3 separate regions of the Homo sapiens genome follow, and regions 2 and 3 are each linked to region 1. The links are contacts of gene promoters, found by promoter capture Hi-C in blood cells and fetal thymus (Javierre and others, 2016). All regions are on one chromosome and are shown on one strand. Each heading gives the region's core, a stretch centred on a gene start or on the middle of the fragment in contact. The rest is flanking DNA. Distances are from core to core; before and after follow the strand shown. Region 1 holds the start of RTP4 (receptor transporter protein 4). Region 2 has its middle 43 kb from the start of TPRG1. Region 3 has its middle 89 kb from the start of TPRG1-AS1.

Evidence for each region. Contacts are between HindIII fragments. The CHiCAGO score rates a contact against its expected background, and 5 or more counts as called.
Region 2: a fragment that was not itself captured here is called in contact with the fragment with the promoter of RTP4 in region 1 in 2 of 17 cell types (naive CD8 T cells and naive B cells); the score reaches 7.1 in naive CD8 T cells.
Region 3: a contact is called between a fragment that was not itself captured here and the fragment with the promoter of RTP4 in region 1, in 1 of 17 cell types (activated CD4 T cells). The highest score is 6.3, in activated CD4 T cells.

What each region holds. Positions count from the first base shown.
Region 1 is chr3:187,365,769-187,370,809 of GRCh38, reverse strand. RTP4 (receptor transporter protein 4) reads right to left here and starts at 2,425. Exons shown (of 2, transcript NM_022147.3): 1 at 2,214-2,425; 2 at 1-22. The coding sequence starts at 2,368. RefSeq lists an enhancer at 2,215-2,564. The HindIII fragment of the contact is 4,178 bases long and covers 341-4,518 here.
Region 2 is chr3:189,126,301-189,131,341 of GRCh38, reverse strand. It overlaps a transcript of TPRG1 not described here. Among named protein-coding and RNA genes, the nearest start is that of TPRG1, 43 kb to the left of the region's middle. RefSeq lists an enhancer at 2,128-3,327. The HindIII fragment of the contact is 5,198 bases long and covers 1-4,675 here.
Region 3 is chr3:189,033,924-189,038,964 of GRCh38, reverse strand. It overlaps a transcript of TPRG1 not described here. Among named protein-coding and RNA genes, the nearest start is that of TPRG1-AS1, 89 kb to the right of the region's middle. The HindIII fragment of the contact is 5,433 bases long and covers 1-4,621 here.

The DNA.
Region 1 (5,041 bases), core at 1,176-3,675:
CTGGCAGGAGGAACACCGGAACCTGCAGTCAGAAGGAAGACACCCATTATGCCTTCATCTGGTTGTTAACCTGAGGGAAAATGGTCTTGGCCCCTGTCACTAACATCCTTTTCCATTTGAAAAAATGCATGTGATTTAGATTGTCCCAGTCATTGATAAACAGGAACAAGAAGGACTATGTTTCAGATAAGGCTTTTTCCTGTGACCTACTGAGTATCCACCCATATGTTACACCCAAGTCTACCTCTTTGCTAGTAAAACATCTCCAGATGCCTCTGAGGGAAAATCATGTCTGCCATCTTCCAGAGAAACTTATTCCTAATTTTGGTCATAGAAAGCTTTGGTAAAGTATCTATTTTGATGCATACAATATAATTGGTCTTTATAATTTTATCCCATTTCATCTGTGAAGTAAGCACTATTAAACCCAATATCCAGATAAGGAAACTGAATCATGAAAAGGATACGCAACCTGCTTAAGGACACACAGGGTAAATGTTAGAGGCATGCTGCTAATCTCAGGCCATCTGAAATTCAACTCATTTACCTGCTGTAACACGTTGCCTCTGGTGAGTAGTGTAGCTAATCTCTCACACCTGGAGAAACAGACTGCATCCCTCATACCTGGGTTGAAGATCCAGTTTACATCAGGAAGACCTTGGGCAAAGCCCTTCCCTTCTATAACCCTCATTGTTTGAATCCATAAAAAAAAAATTCAAGGGTTATATTGGCAGCATCAAAAGAGACGATGTATGTGAAAACACTTTGTAAACTACAAAATGCTTTTCAAAAGCTGATTGATATTTTCCAAAAGTACACTGGTAGGTTGCTTTTCCGATCTCGAAATGACAATCAAATCAAATCATCCCAACAGGAGAAACACCTTCTTTCTGTTTGGAGGAGTGCCAAAACGTTGTAAGACATCATGAGTCCCTCAAAAAGCTCTGGCTGGTGTGGACAGAAATATTTACACATTTCCCTGGATTAGAAAGCAGAGCAACATGACTGCTATACGGGCTCTGACAAGTGACTTGAGAACTGTTCTGGAGACGTTTAGGAGGCTTTATTTAAACAACAGATTCTGCAGCTAAAAATAAGCATATACTGTATTTGATACAATATATAATAATACATATATTATTTATAAATTTATTATTCTGAAATACATAGTACATATGTATATATAATTATATATCATTTATGTATACATATACATATATATTTTATCTTATCCCATTATCTTATGGGAATGTATACGAAGGAATACTTACTCTGCCTAGGAGAACCAGAGAATGCTTTTAGGAGGAGGAGGCACTAGAGTGGGCCTTGAAGGATGAGCAGGGAGGGGTGAGGGGAGGGTCTGCTGAACAAGCAGAACTCCATGAACAAGAGTGTGGAAGTCTGAAGATGCATGGCATAGCTAATAGTCCATAAGGAATGGAGTAGGCCATACCTGAGGCAGGATGGGGCAGGCAGGCAAGCTGAGTAATAGGTCAGATGAAAACTATACCGAAGGTCCTGTGTGTCATTTAAAAATAAATTTGATTATCCAGGTCAGCAATTCTCACCCTCCTAACATGGTCAAGGAAACTGGTTCCTGCAACCTGGAGGCTTGCTGGGGGTTAAAGAGGGAAGTGGTGAGTAAGGGAGGAGTATTACTTGGTGACTCCATGAACTGGGTTTTAGATTTAGTTTTTGCAACATCATTCTATACTATTATCCCCAGGCCTTCAGTAAAGCAATGTTCAGAGTAACTGCTTGATCTTAGCCAATTCTTAAGATATTTAAAAAAAAAAAAAAGGCTCCGTCCCAGGCTTGTACTGAACAGTGCCAAGGCTTGGAGAGCTGGTGCAGCTGGGGGAAGCTGGTCAGGACTGCTGGGGAGACTGCAAAAGACTCTAGAGGTAGTCTGGAACAAATGACGTGGTGAGAAACTAGAAGGGAAAATTTATGGAATAGGGAGCCTTCTCCAGGGTTTTCCAGAAATATTTACGGAGGGAAACCTAGTAAAAGAAGAAACTTCCAGCAGTTAAACAAAATGGAGGTTTGGAGTCGTCTTATCATGTCGACCCTAAAGAGTACTATGACCACAATAGGATGGAGGCCCTGGTGACATTTACTCCTTCAACAAGCTCTCAGAGGAATAAATCATGCTAAGCTGAGCCTGAGCCTCTCTTCTCAGAAGAGCTATTGCCTGGGAAACCCACACTCACCAGCCAAATGCTCTCTGTTGGTATTGCTTCCACCCTTGAGCCAGGCAGTCTAGCTGAAGGTTGCCATCCAACTTCAGCGTCCATGTGGCCCGGGGTTTTGCCTCTTGGATTAGTTCTTGAAATGTCTGCTCCCAAGTCCAGAAATCTACAACCATTTTTTCCCTCTGAAGCTGAGAGAGTAGCTTTCAGGTTTGCTCGTTTCTCAGGAAGAGACAAACAGTTTCAGTTTCGGTGTTCGGTTCAGTTTCTGTTTCTGTGTATGGACATGAGCTGTTTTTTTCAACCTTCATTTTAGACTGTCTGAGTACACAGAACAAGTCTTTGTTCTGAAAACAGACAGCAGCAAAACTGTGTTAGTTAATAGGCCTTGCTGAGAGAGAGATAAAGAGCTCTGTTCTAGATTCTGGGGTCACATATAAATTCGCTTTTATTTTCTCTCTCTCATTTTTTATAATAGGCAAAGTGAGAGGTGACAGCATGCTGGTAGCCCTCGCAGCCCTCGCTCGCTCTCGGAGCCTCCTCGGCCTCGGTGCCCACTCTGGCCGCGCTGGAGGAGCCCTTCAGCCAGCCACTGCACTGTGGGAGCCCCTTCCTGGGTAGGCCAAAGCCAGAACCGGCTCCCTCAGCCTGCTGGGAGATGTGGAGGGAGAGGCACGGGCAGGAACCGGGGCTGCATGCAGGGCTTGCAGGCCAGCTAGAGTTCTGGGTGGGCGTGGGCTTGGCGGGCCCTGCACTCGGAGCGGCCGGCAGGCCCCCAGCCCTGGGCAGTGAAGTGCTTAGCACCTGGGCCAGCAGCTGCGGAGGGTGCGCCAGGTCCCCCAGCAGTGCCGGCCCACCGGCACTGAGCTCGATTTCTCGCTGGGCCTTAGCTGCCTCTCTGTGGGGCAGGGCTCGGGACCTGCAGCCCGCCATGCCTGAGTCTCCCCACCCTGGGCTCCTGCATGGCCCAAGCCTCCCCGACGAGTGCCACCCCCTGCTCCATGGTGCCTGGTCCCATCGACCGCCCAAGGGCAGAGAAGTGCGGGCACACACGCAGGACTGGCAGGCAGCTCCACCTGCTGCCCCCGGGGCGGGATCCACTGGGTGAAGCCAGCTGGGCTCCTGAGTCTAGTGGGGACTTGGAGAACCTTTATGTCTAGCTAAGGGATTGTGAATACACCAATGGGCACTCTGTATCTAGCTCAAGGTTTGTAAATGCACCAATCAGCACCCTGTGTCTAGCTCAGGGTTTGTGGATGCACCAATCAGCACCCTGTCAAAACGGACCAATCAGCTCTCTGTAAAACAGACCAATTGGCTCTCTGTAAAATGGACCAATCTGCAGGATGTGGGTGGGGCCAGATAAGAGAATAAAAGCAGGCTGCCCCAGCCAGCACTGACAACCGGCTCGGGTCCCCTTCCACGTGGTGGAAGATTTGTTCTTTTGGTTTTTGCAATGAATCTTGCTGCTGCGCAGTGTTTGGGTCTGCTCTGCCTTTATCAGCTGTTAACACTCACCCGGAAGGTCTGCAGCTTCACTCTTGAGCCAGCAAGACAATAAACCCACCAGAAGGAAGAAACTCAGAACACATCCGAACATCAGAAGGAACAAACTCTGGGCACTGTGCCTTTATGAGCTGTAACACTCACCATGAGGGTCGGTGGCTTCATTTTTGAAGTCAGTGAGACCAAGAACCCACCAATTCCGGACACAAAAGCACTGTTTTTGGCACTGGGAAAAGAGTATCCTGTAGCTAAGAAACAATTCCTGCCCCCACAGATGCTCACACCCAGGTGGAGACAGGGAGGTTAGGAGCAGCGTAGGGGAGCACGTGTTTAATGCTCATCTCCTACACCCCATGTATCCTCACCAGTCCCGCGAAGGATTATTCTTGGAGTTTTGCAGGTTAACTGCACAGAAAGCTGGGGTACTTTGTCCAAATCCCCTCAGTTAACGAGCAGTGGAAGTGAGACTTGAACCCGGGTCTGTGTGACTCCAAAACCTGCCATGTGTCCGCCCACCTCACTCCCTGAAGAGAAGCTGAGAATGGCATTTCAGGTTCCAGGCTGGCACACTGGAGCCAGTGTCAGAGGAACCGTAGGGAGATTTCCTGGGTCCTGAGGCAGGAGGTCAGCTGCATGAAGGGATTATCAAACTCTGCCCTCCACTCTGTAAATTATGTGGAAGGGCAAATACGCACAGGTGTGGGGGCCGTCTTTCAGTGGTAGGATACAGAGAATTCCCATTTTGGGGTAAGGGATTGAGATGAGATGACCTTTAAAGACACTTGTAAGTCTAAAACGCGGAGATTCCAGAGAGTAAGCTTTGTCCTCCTGGGGCTTAAATTCAAATAGGGGAGATAGGACAAGCAGGATGCTTACTTAGGTCTTTAGAACACCCGCTACAGCTTCTGTGTCTGAGACAGGATCAGCCTCAGTCTTCCTGGGTTTTCTAGGCTTCCATGTGCCCTGTCAGCGACTCAGAGACACCCTCTCTCTTTCCTTCCCTTCCTGGATACCTGTGTCTATACACATGATATAGGAAGCTCTAAGAACTTGTAATTGGATCCACAGGATGTTAGAGTTGGGAAAACCCTTAGAAATCAACTTATCCCTTTTCCCTTTAATTTTTATACACGAGAAAACTGAGGCTGGGCACCGTGGCTCACGCCTGTGATCTCAGCACTTCGGGAGGCCAAGGAGGGTAGATCACTTGAGGTCAGGAGTTTGAGACCACCTGACCAACATGATGAAACCCCATCTCTACTTTAAAAATTACAAAGTCAGCCAGGCATGATGGCGCATGCCTGTAATCCCAGCTACTTGGGAGGCCAGGGCAGGGGAATTGC
Region 2 (5,041 bases), core at 827-3,326, 1.8 Mb before region 1:
CACATGAATATTTATATATAATTCCAACATTAGAATGTATCATATTTACATAATATCTTAAATGATATTGCCTTTTTGTAATGTATAGAAGTAACTCATTAGGGATTTCTTTAGCACCAATTTAAACACTGAAGCCCAAGTTGGAATCTCCCTGAGCCCTCCCATCAGTGAAATTACTACATAATCGCTGCTCCGATTTAAAACATTTTTTAGAGTAAAAGGTAAGATTATTACTAATTATGCTGCCAAAAAGGATAAATCTGAACTGTTCTGGGCAAAGTGGGACATACGATCACGTTACTTAGAGTTGTGCAGAATTTTAGGTATTTTACCGGCCAGAGGTAACATGGCATGAGGTAAAAAGTACACATCTCATAATCAGAAGTTTTGGATCCTAGCTCAAGATCCACCATTGTTAGCAAAAATCACATATGGCCCTGAACCTCACTTTCCTCTTCTCTAAAACGCAGGTCATTCCCTGCATCTCAAACTCAGGTTATGACCTGCATTTGAGGAAGAATGTAAATGAAAGCCTGTTATAGCTGGAATATATAGCTCTACTGTTGGATTTTTTAAATAGTACTTTCAAATGGATTTTTTTAACAGACATTGGTACTCTTCACATCACATTATGAGTGTGTCCTAAGCAGTTCATATTCTGCCAGAATATATAAATGGTTGCTTGATAGTAGAGCCCTCACACTCACAGAAGGGAATCTACATTTGCCTCTAGTTTCATCCTATTACAGTCCATGTCAAGGGACTATTGGTGTTCTCTTTCATGCTGTTGTTCAGTTTTATTAACTACTGGTTAAAATAATCTGCTACGTTTTGACCATGCCAGGCCATTTTCCTCTGATAACATTTGAGTTACTGAGATTATACCTGTAAGGTCCATTTTAGGCCAGTTAAGAAAGCACTGAGAATAGAAGTTTAATTTTTTCAGGTACTACATGTAAGTTAATTCACCATTTCCTTAATGAGGAGCAATGTTTGAATTCTCTGAAGCCTCATAATCTCTCCCAGGCAGAAAGGAATCATGGATCCTAAAGACAGTCAAAATAGTTATTGTCTAGTTGAGTTCTTCTTTCTATAAATTATGAGAAAGATCTCATGGTGCTTATAACCCAACATACTCGGTACTATGCATGTGCCTAGAACCCATGGCACATGATGTATGTGCCAAGATCTGTACATACATCATGATCATCTGGTTGAGGATATTCTATATTACTCAGAGCTGAGCTTGCCATGAGTGCTTGATAACTGCATTACAATTCACTTATCATTGCCATAGTCATCAACATAATCATTTATCAGTTCAACATTCAGCTGAGAAGTTTTATTATCCCTCTTATGAAGAGTACCTTAAGTATTATCTTTGATTTATCAGCCTCCATGAGATTTTTTGTGCATTTCTCTTTCCTTCACAATGCCTAACACAAGGCCCTGTATAGAAGTAAATGTTTGATCAATGTTAGTAAAATAAGTAAAATTATTTTCATACTCCTTCCACTGTGCACATGAAACAATCATAACTTTACCATAGCTCAAAATCCTATACTTTTTTCTTCATCTGTGCTTTAGTGAAAAAAGCAATAGTCTTGGACTTAAAATAACTGAGCTTAAATAAGGAGTGAAGCGACAACTCTTTCCAACAGAGAGTTTCAGTTAATAAATATAGAGAAAATGAGGAAAATAGAAAATGACCATTACAACATCATAATAACAATGGCAACAAGCAAGATCCACCACAAGAGGCTAAAATTAGTTAATGAGGGAAAGTTTAAGTATAAACAGCATATTTTTATAGTCTCAAGTGTCACTTCTCAAAATATTTAGTAATAACAAAGGGGGAAACAGCAAATTTACAGTGGAAAAATCCAGCAGATGCCATCTTAACCAAGTGATCAGGGTTAATGTCACCAATAATATATATCAACATAATATACCTGGTATCACAGCCTGAGAAGGACGCATCCCTGCTGTGGTATCTTTTGCAATACCTTCAGTATAGTCCCAAGAAAAGATCAGAAAAACCAAAATTGAAGGACATTCTACAAAATAACTCATCAGTACTCTTCAAAAGTGTCACAATCATGAAAGAAAAGGAAAAACTGTGAGAAACTGTCACAGATGGCAGGAGACCTGACAACTAAGGCAACGTGGGACTCTGAATTGGAGCCTAGGAATAAGAAAGGACATTTGTGAAAAAATTGATGAAATATGTATAAAGTCCATACTTTAGTGAATAGTACTAAAGTTAATTTCTTAGTTTTTAATCATTGTTCCACGGGTAGATAAGATGTTAACATTAGGAGAAGTTGCTGCTGCTGTTGTTTTTGTTTTTGTTTTTCCTGAGTCTAAAATTATCTCAAAATAAGAAGTTTAAAAGATAACTGAGTTGGGCCGGGTGCGGCAGCTCACGCCTGTAATCCCAGCTACTCAGGAGGCTGAGGCAGAAGAATCGCTTGAACCCGGGAGGTGGAAGTTGCAGTGAGCCGAGATTGCGCCCTTGCACTCCAGCCTGGACAACAAGAGCGAAACTCTGTCTCAAAAAATAATGCTAATAATAAAATAACTGAGTTGAAGAGCCAACACTGACACCTACCAGTGGCATGTCCTTAGGTAAGTTACCTAAGCTCTCTCAGCCTAATCTTTCATTATCACTAAAATTAGAGAAATAGTACCAACATTTTGTTGATATGAGGTCAAAATGAGATAAGGAACATGAGGGCACTTCGAAAATTATAAACCCTTATAAAAATATCTTTATTACTTCTTAACTCTTTGACCTTTTCATCTCATTCAACTACAGTTGCCAGATAAAATATAGGACTCCAGTTAAATTTGAATTTCAGATAAACAACTTTTTTAGTATAAATATGTTTCATGTTATGGTTGAGACATACTTAAAACAATTTTTTTCTTTAGATGCCCTGTATTTTTATTTCCTAAATCTGATAAACCTACCTTGACCTGACTTCCAATACTCTGTCCCTTTCTTGAAGGTGTCTTCTTCCCTCCTCCAGGCCGTCTTTGCACAATACTGACAGCTCTGGTACAATGATTCCATGCAAGGGCCATGGCGGCCCATGCTCCAGGAGAGCTGCACAAAGGTTCATCTATCACAAGACTCTAGCAAAACGAATTCATTAAGAGTACACGACAAACAGGAATTTTCCCTTTCTGACTCATCTTGCAATTGTGCAAAATTTATTTTAAAATTTTTAAGTTATTTTTACTTCTCACTCCCCACAAAAGCCCAATGATAAAAATACTGTGCAGATTTTTTAAGCTGTGAGGAAAGATCAAAATCAGCAACAACCTATAAGATGGTCCTGGTAGACTAAAGTAGGAGCCCACCTCTTGGGACCTGTAGTGAGGTTTTGGGGAAAGAATGAAAGAGAAGAGGAGGAAGACTTTGAACACAACATTTTTACATATACCAGCTAAGCATATAGGGAATTATGCTTAACTTCACTTTCCTAGTGAGAAACTGAGTCTGAGGGAAGACAACTTAGACTCTACCTCACAAAGGCCATTGATTTCATACTTCTTTCTCTTCCATAACATCTGGACCTCAAGGTTCTACCCAGAGGCCATCTCTTTTGTGAGTTTACCTCCTTTATTCTCCAAATCAAGTATGGTTTGTTTTTCTCTGAATCTCCACATTGCTATAAAAAGACCTTAAGACCTTTACCTGGGAGTATAGCCACATGTTATTCACATTGTATTGATATCTCTTATTTTGGTCTTAAGGACAAAGGTTGTGTCATGTTCATGTCAAGATGCCCTACGGTATCTCCAAAGCAAACGTGACTTTCAAAATTGAAAGTTGAGAGGCCCATTGACCACTAACTTGGCACATTGGTTATAATATACACTGTGGCAGATACAATTTTAACTTGTGTCAATAGTTTCCATTTGTTAACATATGTCAGCACCTATATGATCTCTAAAATCCTTCTAGTTCTGACATCTTGCCTTTTAGGATCCCAGTTTTTGATGGAGCAGACACCTAAGTAATGGTTTTGTGGCCTCAATGCTATTCTGGCTACTGAAATCAAATTCCTATAGGCATCATAATTTTCCTTTTTGGTTGCCACTCCCATAGTTCCTTCTACTCACCTTGGAGGTATATCAGAAATATTATCAAGGATCTTCTGTAAGGGATGATCCAGACTCTGAGGACTCTACGGAGTGAAGAGGAACAGGCTTTCTGTGAATCAACAGCATGAAATCTCTGGGTGTCTTTTTGCACAGGCCATCCTCATAAATAATCCTGTCTCAAAGGGAAGATGCAGATTTGTAATTACTGACAGCTTAGAGGTCAGAAGCTCTAAGTTTATATGTTGTTTTACAGGATATTCCTGCTGGATTTAAGTCTAGAAACTGGATTCAAACCCTAGATCATCATCACACTCATCTTTCTGTACTTCTGGTTAGCAATTATTTCACAATGAAATCGTGTGAATAAGAGCTGTCTTTCTTTCCCTACAGGGTTTGGTAGGAATCAAATAAGATACAACTAGCAATAATTTATAGAATACATAGCAAACACCAGGTGCCAAGGTAAACACTTCACTTGTATCATTTAATCCTTCTGATGTCCTCATAAATTTGGAGGTCCAATTTCCATTTGAACAATGAGTAGATCTAAGCTCAGCAAGCTTAAGCAAATTATACAAGGTCATAGAGCTAGGAAATAATGGAAATGGAATTCAGACACATTTTGCTGCCCCAAAAAACCACACTCTTAATCACATGCACCCATTTCCCATATAAAAATGCTTTAAAATCAGAAAGCCTCATACACATGAAGGAATTCTCACTTAACCCTCACAACATACCAGGGGATAATAAGGCAGGTATTTTTTCCCAATTTATAAATAACCAGTGGCCAGTCTTAGTGACATCGAGCTAATAAGTGGCAAAACTAGGAGTTAAGCCTATTTATTATCTTGTTCTCTGAGCAGATTCCCTTAACTAAGGAAAGAAGAAATAACCTTCAAGTTCTGTCTGAAAGCAGAGTGGTATT
Region 3 (5,041 bases), core at 656-3,155, 1.7 Mb before region 1:
ACCATCTGACTTTCTCATTTTTACCAATCTGATGGGTGTAAAATGAGTCTCATTATGGTTTTAATTTATAGCTCTCTCATTACTTATGATGTTGGGGATGTCTTCATGAGCATGTAAGTAATTTGGGTTTGCCCTTCTGTGAATTGTCTATTCATTTTTTTTTTTTTTTTGCCAATTACTCTCTTTTCTTTGTTGATTTGCAGGAATTGCTTAATTATTCTAGGTATTAATCCCTTGTCAGTTTTAAATGTTGTAATTATCTTCCCCCAGTCTGTCTCCCATCTGTTACCTTTATCTACAGTGTCCTTCAATGAACAGAAATTCATAATTATTATGTATCAGATCCATTCATTTTTTTCCCATTATACTTTTAATTTTGGGAGTATTGTTCCAGAAATCATTCCCCACCCCGAAGTTGCCAAGGTACTTTCCATTATTTTCTCACCAGTTTATCTTTACATTTTACATACTAATGTTTAATTCAAAATTTTATCAAATTTTACTTTTCTCCATTTAACAAGCCAGTTTTGCCAATACTATATGCTTTTAAAAAGCCTATCTTTCCTCCATTGATTTATTATATCAATTGATTATATATGAAGACATCATACAATATATTCCAAACTGAAAAGTAAAAGAGGACATTATTTTTAATTTTGCTAGGCCAATAGGCATAAATGCAGTAAAATTTTCACAGGCAAATTAAAATAGTCACCTTAATTTTATACCATATTCCATAAGGGACGGTTTATGGTTCTTTATCCCATTGTTTTACTTGTCTGATCATGTGGCAGGCTATTTTTTTTTCTTTTATGGTTATATAATAATAGAGGGTAGGGAAGGTATTCCTTTTTGCTCTTCCAAAATTATCATTTACTTATGGACTTTTGTTTTTCACAATATATTTTAGACCTAAGTTTCTCTGTATAAGTTTTGATTGGAATTCTATACATTTTTTATTTAATTTGGCAAAATTTGACCTCTTTAAAATACTAAGTTGCCCCATCCATGAACATGGTTTATCTCTGTATTCATTCAGATCTTGTATGCCTTTTGATAGAGATGGTAGTTTCTCCAAAACAATCTTTAGACTTCTTAATAGGTTAATATATTTATATCTTAAAGTTTTGCTGGTATATTATACTTGATGGATATATCTTACTAATTTACTACTGGTAGAAAATATTGTTGGTTGTTTAATATATTTTATCCAGAAATACTCTTACTAGTTGTATACAAAATCTTGGAGAAGACTGTTAGTTTCCATAAATGATTAAATCATCTGAAGCTCTTTCATCTTCCAGCAGTGATATCTCATTGTATTTCTTGTTTCATTATATTTGGTTATGTCCCACTAGTACTAGGTTAACTAGTAGTGGCGACATAATGTTTTCTTGTCTAATATTAAATATACCTTAAGTTTCTTCTTTAAAAAATACTTACTGAAAGTTGTTCATATACAGCCTTTAACTAGTTAATAAGGTTCTCATTTATGCCTGATTTTGTGAAAAGTTGTATTATAAACAGAAATTACATTTTATTTAATAATTTTTCTACTTATATTGAGCTAAACATATGATTTGTTTCCTTAGTAAATTACTACTGTTACATTGATAGAGCTTCTGATATGAAATCCTCCTTATGTTACTGAGGTAAATCATACATGTTCATCATGTTTTTTTCTTTTCTCAAATAATATTTTAGTGTGTGATCTAATGATTTTCGTAGAATTTTTACACACAAATTTATAAATAAATTTGTTCTATAATTTTTTATAGACAATATTTTTATCAAGTAAAAATAATTACTGTTTCATGAGTATCAAAGAATGATTAAGGCACTTTGGCCTTTTCTATTATTCTATTATCTAGGACAACTTGTATGAGGAAAGGAGGGTGATTTTTTTTTTAAATATTTGTTTCGTTTTTTTTTTCAGAAGTCACTTATAAATCATTTGGGCCTCGGATTTTGGTGGGGCAGGAGTAGGAGTAAGAATGGGGACTTTTTTGATAACTATGTCAGTTTATCTTATGATTTTTAGACCTTTCAAATTTTTTATTTCTTCTTCTGCTGATTCTGGAATTTTTAAAAAATGATTTGGTTTCATTTAATCGGTTTATAGATCTCATTAATAGTATTTACTGTCTTTATAATCTTCATTACATCTATAATTATCCATCTGTACATTACATCTAAATTTACATCACCTTTTTTATTCTATATTTTGCTAATTTTCAACTTTTTGTTACCAGTGTTACCAGATACCTGTATATGTTACTCATCTTTCCAAAGAATTCAAACTTATTTGTCTGTTGTCACGTATATGGTGTTATTATTTCTTATTTCTTGAATTTTATATTATCTTTATTATTTTATTATTCCTCCTTTGTCTGGGATAGCATTATGTTGTTGCTCTTTTTATATTTTTACATATGCAAACAATTATAGCTTCCTTATCTCCTATAACTTATCTCAACTTCATGGGTGTCCATTCCCTTAACTTTTTCCACACATTAGTGGGGTTTTGTAATTTTTATTTTAGGTTCATGGGGTACATGTGCAGGTTTCTTACATGTGTAAATTGCATGACACTGAGATTTGGTGTACAAATGATCCTGTCACCCAAGTAGTGAGCATAGTACCCAACAGTACTAATTTTACACTAGTAGTTTCTCAACCCTAGCCCCATTCTACCCTCCCCTCTCTAGTGGTCCCCATGTTTATTGTTCCCATCTTTGTGTCTGTGTGTACTCAATGTTTAGCTCCCACTTACAAATGAGAACATGCAGTATGTGTTTTTCTGTTCCTTCATTAATTCACTTAAGATAATGACCATCCATGTTGCTGCAAAGGACAGGATTTTGTTTTTTTTCATAGGTGCATAATATTCCATGGTGTATATGGACCATATTTTCTTTATCCAATCCACTAGTAATGGGCATCTAGATTGATTCCATGTCTTTCCTATTGTGAATAGTGCTTCAATGAACATACAAGTGCATTTGTCTTTTTGGTAGAACAATTTATTTTCCTCTGGGTATAGACCCAGTAAGGGGATTGCTGGGTAGAATGGTAGTTCTGTTTTAAGTTCTTCGAGAAATCTCAAAACTACTTTCCACGCTAGATGCACTAATTTACATTCCCACTAACAGTGTATAAGTGTTTCCTTTTCTCTGCAACTTCCCCAACATCTGTTATTTTTTGACATTTTAGTAATGGCCATTCTGACTAGTATGAGTTGGTATCTCATTGTAGTTTTTGATTCACTCTAATGAATAGTGATGTACTTTTTAATATATTTGTTGGTCACATGTATGCCTTCTTTTGAGAAGTGTCTATTCATGTCTTCTGCCCATTTTAATGGGGTTACTTGGTTTTTGCTTGCTGGATTAAGTTCCTTATAGATTCTAGATAGTACACATATGTCAGATGCATAGTTTGCCAATATTTTCTCCCATTCTGTATGATGCCTGTTTATTGACAGTTTATTTTGCTGTGCAGAAAGAAGCTCTTTAGTTTAATCAGGTCACATTTGTCAATTTTTGTTTTTGTTGCAATTGTTTTTGGGGACTTAGTCATAAATTATTTTCCAAGGTGATGTACAGAATGATATTTCCTAGGTTTGCTTCTAGGTTTTTATAGTTTGAGGTCTTACATTTAAGTCTTTAATCCATCTTGAGTTAATTTTTGTATATGGTGAAAGGTAGGGGTTCAGTTTCAATCTTCCGCATATGACTAGCCAGTTATCCCAGTACCATTAATTAAGTAAGAAGTCCTTTCCTTATTACTTGTTATTGTTGACTTTGTCAAATATCATATGGTTGTAGGTGTGTGGCTTTATTTCTGGGTTCTCAACCCTGTTCCATTGGTCTATGTGTCTGTTTTTATACTAGTACCATGCTGTTTTGTTACCGTAGCCTTGTAATATAGTTTGAAGTTTTTTAGTTTGATACCTCCAGCTTTGTCCTTTTTGCTTAGGATTGCTTTGTCTATTCAGGCTCTTTTTTGGTTCCACACAAATTTTAGAATAGTTTTTTCTAATTCTGCGGAAAATGACATTGGTAATTTGATAGAAATAGCATTGAATCTGTAAATTGCTTTGGGAAGTATAGCTCTTTTAACAATATTCATTCTTCTTATAAATGAGCATGGAATGTTTTTCCATTTGTTGGTGTCATCTCTGATTTCTTTCATCAGTGTTGTGTAATTGGTGTAAAGAGCTTTCACCTTAGCTTCTTCAGTGGAAAATGTATTTAATTATTATTCTTTTAGAGGTATTTAAAGCACCAGATTTCCTTCTAAATGTTCTTGTTTACAACTTTTATGTCCTTGCTTTTTCTTTTTTATCTGTTTAAACTAACAATTTTTAAAGACTCTCTAGCTCAGCTATTCATTTGCCTTTATTTCACCACAGTTCTGTCATTCTTGCTTTATGTATTTAAAACATAAGGTACATTGATATATTGTTTATGTTGCCAATATATTAAATCTATGATTTTTGACAATGATAACTTGTCTCCATTTCTAATGAGCCAATTTTGAAATTGCTATCTTAATTTGCTATCTGATCATATTTGTCTGATGTCATTTTATGTCTTTATTTTTAATCTTTCTGTAAGCTTTTGTTTAAATGCAGCTTATGCAGATAACATAAGTGTGGATCTTGTTTTTAATCCAATCTGAAAGGATCTGCTTTTGATTTTGACTGGTAAGATAATTCATTTATATTTATTGTAATTCCTCCTTTGTTAGAAATTACTTCTACCACATTTTGTGTTTCCATTTACAAAACTTCTATTTGTCCCCTTTTTTCCTCTCAACTTTCATTAGATAGATCAAATTTCCTTCTCGTTGCTTAGAAGTTATGCATTCTACTTTTAATATCCTGGGGTTATTCTTAAGTTATTAAGACACATAGCTACACGTAAACCATCAATATTTTAAAAGTTAATGTCTATTTCTTTTCCTCTAGCAGACAATGCTTCCATGTATCTTTTATCTCTCTTAGCCCTCTACAAGCTTTGTTGGTATCATTAATAAT